2 separate regions of the Homo sapiens genome follow, and region 2 is linked to region 1. Evidence: promoter capture Hi-C in human tissues and cell types (Jung and others, 2019). All regions are on one chromosome and are shown on one strand. Each heading gives the region's core, a stretch centred on a gene start or on the middle of the fragment in contact. The rest is flanking DNA. Distances are from core to core; before and after follow the strand shown.

Evidence for each region. The method cuts DNA at HindIII sites, captures the fragments that hold promoters and counts their contacts. A contact is called where the count stands out against the background at its distance.
Region 2: a contact is called between a fragment that was not itself captured here and the fragment with the promoter of OTUD7B in region 1, in 2 of the 25 tissues and cell types used here (IMR-90 fibroblasts and liver).

What each region holds. Positions count from the first base shown.
Region 1 is chr1:150,009,251-150,012,445 of GRCh38, forward strand. OTUD7B (OTU deubiquitinase 7B) reads right to left here and starts at 1,476. Exons shown (of 12, transcript NM_020205.4): 1 at 1,198-1,476. RefSeq lists enhancers at 221-1,103, 468-517 and silencers at 1,038-1,327, 1,588-1,637. The HindIII fragment of the contact is 20,587 bases long and covers 1-3,195 here.
Region 2 is chr1:149,974,705-149,977,765 of GRCh38, forward strand. It overlaps OTUD7B (OTU deubiquitinase 7B), which reads right to left. Exons shown (of 12, transcript NM_020205.4): 2 at 2,722-2,872. The coding sequence starts at 2,806. Among named protein-coding and RNA genes, the nearest start is that of OTUD7B, 34 kb to the right of the region's middle. The HindIII fragment of the contact is 6,801 bases long and covers 1-3,061 here.

The DNA.
Region 1 (3,195 bases), core at 226-2,725:
CTACATGTTTTCAGAAGTTACATAGCATAGAAACTTTTTTAAATATTTAGGGGTTAGCAACTCTTTGGAGCCAGTCTTACCGCCACCTCTTTCTCTACTCTGTCCTTTTCCACCTTTGAAATAGATTCTGAAAGACAAAGGGATCCAGCCTCCTCAAAAATCTCCTAAATATACAGTACTAGAGGCCAAAGACTGAAAAATTAGCAGCATGTGAATTTCTAAGCAAAGCGTTACGTAGTACGTATAAAAAGATAAGGAAAATAAAAGTCAACGTCCTGCTAATTCTAGGCTTTGCATTCGTGAAAAGCTGCCTGAAAAGTTTGTGGGGAACTTCTTCCATAAAATTCCACCAGTCAGTTTCTAATTTCAAATTTTTACATCTTTATTGTGCCCAGAGAAGCCACCTAGGTTAGACAAGAAAGACTACCACGAGCGGGGAGAAAGAGACTCTGAGCGCTGGTCCTTGTGAGCCGACAAGCTAAAAATACGCCGGCCCAGTAAACAAATCCCATTCCATCCCGACCGGAGCCACACCGTTAACCTAGTAATTATGAGAAGAGTGAGATCACGCAGCCCCCGGCTTACTCATCATCAGCTTCTAAAGTTTCCATCGGCTCATGGCAACTTTTCTTTTTTCTAAAGTTCTTAAGACTGCCCTAGAATCCGTCAACCTCCGTCTCTCTCCCTCTCTCACACACACACACAAACACACACACACACCTTTTTCTCGCCTTTCCTCCATTACTGTATGCACCTTAGTTTGGCTATCAATAGGAAGAATAAGCTTATTTGCTTTTCATTTTAGTATTATATTGAGATTTTAAATGAACTTTATCCTACTGTGGGGATAATACACTGCATCTTAATCACCTTAAAACTCCACCATCCCTCCCGAAAGTCTAGCTGACAAGGGGGGACCGTCCAAACTGGCCAGCACAGCTCAGGAAGGGAGGCCGGGAGCTGGAGAGCGCGGGGTAGGAACGCAGGACGCAGGTGAAAGGGAGGAGGAAAGATCGGGACGAAGCAAGGAGCAGTCAGGGCGAGAAAGGAGTGCCGAGGGGAGATGGCTTCGGGTGAAACAGATTCAGAAAGGAGAAAGGGGACAGTGGCGATCTGAGGAGCAGAGTTTGCGAGTCTGAGAAGCCGGGAGGGGCGGGAGCAGACGGGGGACGGTGTCAGGACGGGGGGCTCCGTTACCCTCGCGGGCTCCCGGGGCAAGGCCCTAGGCCGGGGCGGAGCGCGGGGCCCGGCCGCCTCTCTTCATTCCTCGGCAGTGACCCCGGGGTCCGGCCGGCCCCTCCCCCGACGGCGATGGAGGTGGAGGCGGTGGTGGAGACTGCGACCGCAGCTGTTGCTCCGCACGGGATCTGGAGCTGGAGCCAGAAAGGACTGATCGGGACTGGCCTCCCCCAGTGGCTTTTTGCCCACTCCGCACCCGGTCGCCACTCCGGCTCCGGCGGCTGGTTCAGGATCGGTGGCTTTCTGCTGTCCGGCCGGAAACAGGCGCCAGTTTCCGGCCGGAGCGGGTTGGTGGTGACACCCAGGCCGCCCCCGGGCCTCCTCCCGCTCCGCCCCGTCGCAGCCCCGCCTTTAGCGCCGCTCCCCAGGCTGCGGCCAGTTTGGCGCTTGCCCCGCGCGTGACCCCGTGTTTTCCCGACCCGAGTCCCTAAAGCTCCTGGTCTGGAGCATTCTTGAACAGGAGTTGGAGGAGTACAGGGTGGACTCTTAGGACTCTGGGGTAGAATCAGTTGGCTACAGCCGTTGGGAAGGAGCTGAAAGGGGTGGAGTAGTTGTAGAAAGGTGAGAGAGATGAAAATACTTCAGAATGAAAAGACTGACATTCTAGTAACTCTACACAATCATTCTGGAGTGACCGGAGGAAGATTAGCTTCTTCCACACCAGTCTCCACCCAATTATATATTTCTCTTGTTCCTTCACTCTTGAAGTGAACATATCCTTCTCTGTAAACACTTAATATTTATTTACTTGCATAACAGTGATACCCTGTTGATACATCTGCTTTAGACTGCTAACAGTAAAAAAAACTTACATAGTGCGTTTGTTATGTCTTCTAGTGCGTTTGTTATGTCTTTTAAAACATTATGGCATAATTCAAATATGTATTGTATCCCTGTGATGTGTATCACTGCTCTCAGTGATACAGGGGGATACAAAAATTAACAAGACATAATCCCAGACATCAAAGGTTTTACAATTTAGTAAAATACATAAAACTATATTATATGTAGCAGAACTTGTATGTGTCCTACCTGAGTGACAATGAGCTATGGCTATGAGAACATAATAAGCCATCCTTGTCACATAGTAGACCTTCCATATTTGTTGAATGAATGAATAAGTATTAGGCCTGTGTGGACTGTTTCAAGAAAGAAAGGCCATTTAGTAAATACCTCTTTATGACAAACACAAAACGATGCCAACCCCGGCTATACTCTAACAAAAGACATTTGAAATTTTAATTCAGATTCCTAACATTATAGCACCTGGTCTGCATATTCAAAATAATGTATTGCCTAATTGTGCCCATTATGCCTATGTAAAAACAAATACTCTAGTCAACTTTTCTTTCCCCTCACTTCTTCCTCAGTTTCTAAAGGGGAGGCGTGGGGCATAGGCATTTTAGAATTGTCTAGCTCAGAATAGGAAACTGACACCTGAAACAGGGAAACTTCCTAGACAGCTATATCTCTTAGGGATACACCTGGGTTTACAATCGAAAATTTAGGGCTGGGCCCAAGGCTGTCCACACATGCTAAGGCCAAACAAGTCAGAGTGCCTTGCATGGGGGCATATCCAAGACATACAATAGAGGTTGACAAGTAAAGTCATTTGGCGTGGGCTTCAAGCGTATAAGGGACCACAAATTTTAGCTACCGTTTAGTGGTAAATTTAAGGAGGAGAGCAGGATGAGATTTGGTCACCTAAATTGACTCTAACTGAACTCTAACTGAACTGAACTGGAAGGGTACGGGGGTGGACGCTTGGGACTCTGGGGTAGAATCAGTTGGCTACAGCCGTTGGAAAGGAGCTGAAAAGGGTGTCGTTCTAGAAAGGTGAGAGGGATGAAAATACTTTAGAATGAAAAGACTGAAATTCTAGTAACTCTACACAAACATTCTGGAATGATTGTGACAACAATCACTGACCACACCTACCCTTTGCTAGTTAAATCT
Region 2 (3,061 bases), core at 461-2,960, 34 kb before region 1:
ACACCCAGCTAATTTTTGTATTTTTAGTAGAAACGGGGTTTCACCATGTTGGCCAGGCTGATCTCAAACTCCTGAACTCAGGTGATCCGCCTGCCTCAGCCTCTCAAAGTGTTAGGATTACAGGCATAAGCCACTGCACCCAGCCTCTTTCTTTTTCTTTCTTTTTTTTTTAAGAGATGAGGTCTTGCTATGTTGCCCAGGCTGGTCTCAAACTCCTGGGCTTAATTAAGCGACCGTCCCACCTCAGCCTCCCAGGTAGCTGGGATTACAGTGAATGCCACCACACCTGGCTAGAGCCCCTATTTTCTGCTTCCTGCCTATCTCACCAGCTTCCTACCACTTTTGCACCATTCTTACTACCTCATTATTAATAGTTTCTCCAATGTGCCAAACTCTCTTGCACCTTAGGGCCCTTGCATAAACTGTTTATTCTGCATAAACACTCTCTTCTACATCCCTTTGTCTTGCTGCTCCTACTTGTCCTTCAGGGCTCAGCTTAAAAATCACTCCTCGGAAAAGGCCTTCCTGCACTCTAGATCTAAGTTAGGGTTCTTTCTTCACTCTCACAGCACCCTCAATGTTTCTTTCACAGCATGAGTGTATGTGTGTGTGCACACATGTGAGCATGCTAGCAATAATTTGTAACATAATTGCTTACAGCCATACTCTGAAACCAGATTGCCTAGATTCAAATCCTACTTAAACCTCACTGAGCCTCAGGTTTTAAAATTATTAACTCCAGGATAATAAAACTTTATTGTATGGTGGTTGTGAGAATAAAATAACATATCTCAAGTACGTTGCACATATTGAACACTCATAAGTGTTCAACACATGTTATAAGAGGAATGCAGAAAGGTTAAGGATTTTATGAAAGAGGAAACATTTGAGCTGAATCTTGAAGGATGAGGAGAATAGAGGAAAGAAATGCTCCAGACTGAGGAAGTAACCTAACATGATCACCAAGAGGTGACAAGTCAGGCCTGGCTGCATAGGAAGTATAGGGAAAAGTAGTAGGAGAAGAAACTAAAAATGCAAATTAGGCTGGGCAGGGTGGCTCATGCCTGCCAGCACTTTGGGAGGCTGAGGTGGGTAGATCACGAGTCAGGAGTTTGAAACCAGCCTGGCCAGCATTGTGAAACCCCATCTCTACTAAAAATACACAAATTAGCCGGGCATGGTGGCGCGCGTCTGTAGTCCCAGCTACTGGGGAGGCTGAGGCAGGAGAAACGCTTGAATCTGGGAGGCGGAGGTTGTGGTGAGCCAACATCGCGCCACTGCACTCCAGCCTGGGCGACAGAGTGAGACTCTGTCTCAAAAAGAAAAAAAAAGAAATGCAAATTAAGGACAAAGTTGTACTAAATTACTAAACTGGAATTTAAACCCTGATCTTCTGTTTCCAAACTCATGCTCTCCTCACGGGTAGCCAAGCAAATGTCTAATTGTCACACCTTGCTAAGGGCTGGCAATTTAAAATATTACCTATGTATGCTAAGAACTTGCCCCTTCCCCATAGGCCTGCCTGTTTGTGTCATTACATATTTTCATCTATTATTTGTGACTCTAAACAGAATCCTAGGGACATGATTCTAACCCTTCAGGACCTTAAAATCTAGAACATTCAGCCAGGCATGGTGGCTCATGCCTGAAATCCCAGCACTTTGGGAGAGGCCGAGGCAGGCGGATCACCTGAGGTCGGGAGTTCGAGACCAGCCTGACCAAAATGGAGAAACCCCATCTCTACTAAAAATACAAAATTAGCTGAGTGTGGTGGTGCATGCCTGTAATCCCAGCTACTCCGGAGGCTGAGGCAGGAGAATTGCATGAACCCGGGAGGAGGAGGTTGCAGTGACCCGAGATCGCACCATTGCACTCTAGCCTGGGCAACAACAGCAAAACTCCGTCTACAAAAAAAAAAAAAAAAAAATACTAGAACATTCAAACTTATGTGTATAAAGATATAAGTAAACAAAAGCAGCAAAATGAAAACATTAAATTGATTCACTCAACATAGAATTACCCATAATGTATGTTATGTAAGGAAAGAACAAAACCATGGATGATCCCATCATGAAAACCCTAAAGTCACTTCTATATAAAGAGGAAGTCTTACAGATCTAAAATTATGCTTTTAGGCCGGGCACAGTGGCTCATGCCTGTAATCCCAGCACTTTGGGAGGCCGAGGCAGGCAGATTACCTGAGGTAAGGAGTTCAAGACCAGCCTGGCCAACAGGTGAAACTTAATCTCTACTAAAAAATACAAAAATTAGCCAGGTGTGGTGGCAGGCACCTGTAATCCCAGCTACTCAGGAGTCTGAGGCAGGAGAATTGACTGGACCTGGGAGGCAGAGACTGCAGTGAGCCAAGATCATGCCACTGCTCTCCAGCCTGGGCAACAGAGCGAGACTCTGTCTCAAAAATAAATAAATAAAATAAAATAAAATAAAATTATGTTTGTAATGGACTAATATAAAATTTCACTTGCATTGCCTGAGCATAAACTGACAATGGAGAAAACTACCCCAGTAAGTTCAAGGTGAAAAAGGGATTTTAAAATTTCTAATTATGACGGGTTATACACAAAGTATATCATTAGAATTAACTATAGGGCCTAACCTACACAAAGTATCTTCCTGATCACCTTAAATGGTCCAAATCATCCTAATGATAAATACCACATTTTACTTTCTCTTTTCTCATTCTCCCCTACAACTCCTCACCTTCTAGGAGATCTCGCGCTAGCCCTGGCTCTGCTCCTGTGGAACGGACAAAATCTGACAGAACAGCATCCATGTCCAGGGTCATGTGATCCTCAAGTACTTTCAGCCAGCTGGATGTAGGTAGAACATAGATCAAAATTCAGGCCTCCACCTGAGGAATAAATAAATACATAAGGCTCAAATTACACTGGAACAGGATAATCACAGTCCCATGTCAGCAGCTTCCTAACCAAATGGGGAAACTATCCTAGCTCATTCATTTCAGTTGAATTTTAAAATACAGCACTTTAAAATTATGAAGAGTAACATTTTATTTCCTAACTCTTCATTAACATCTCAA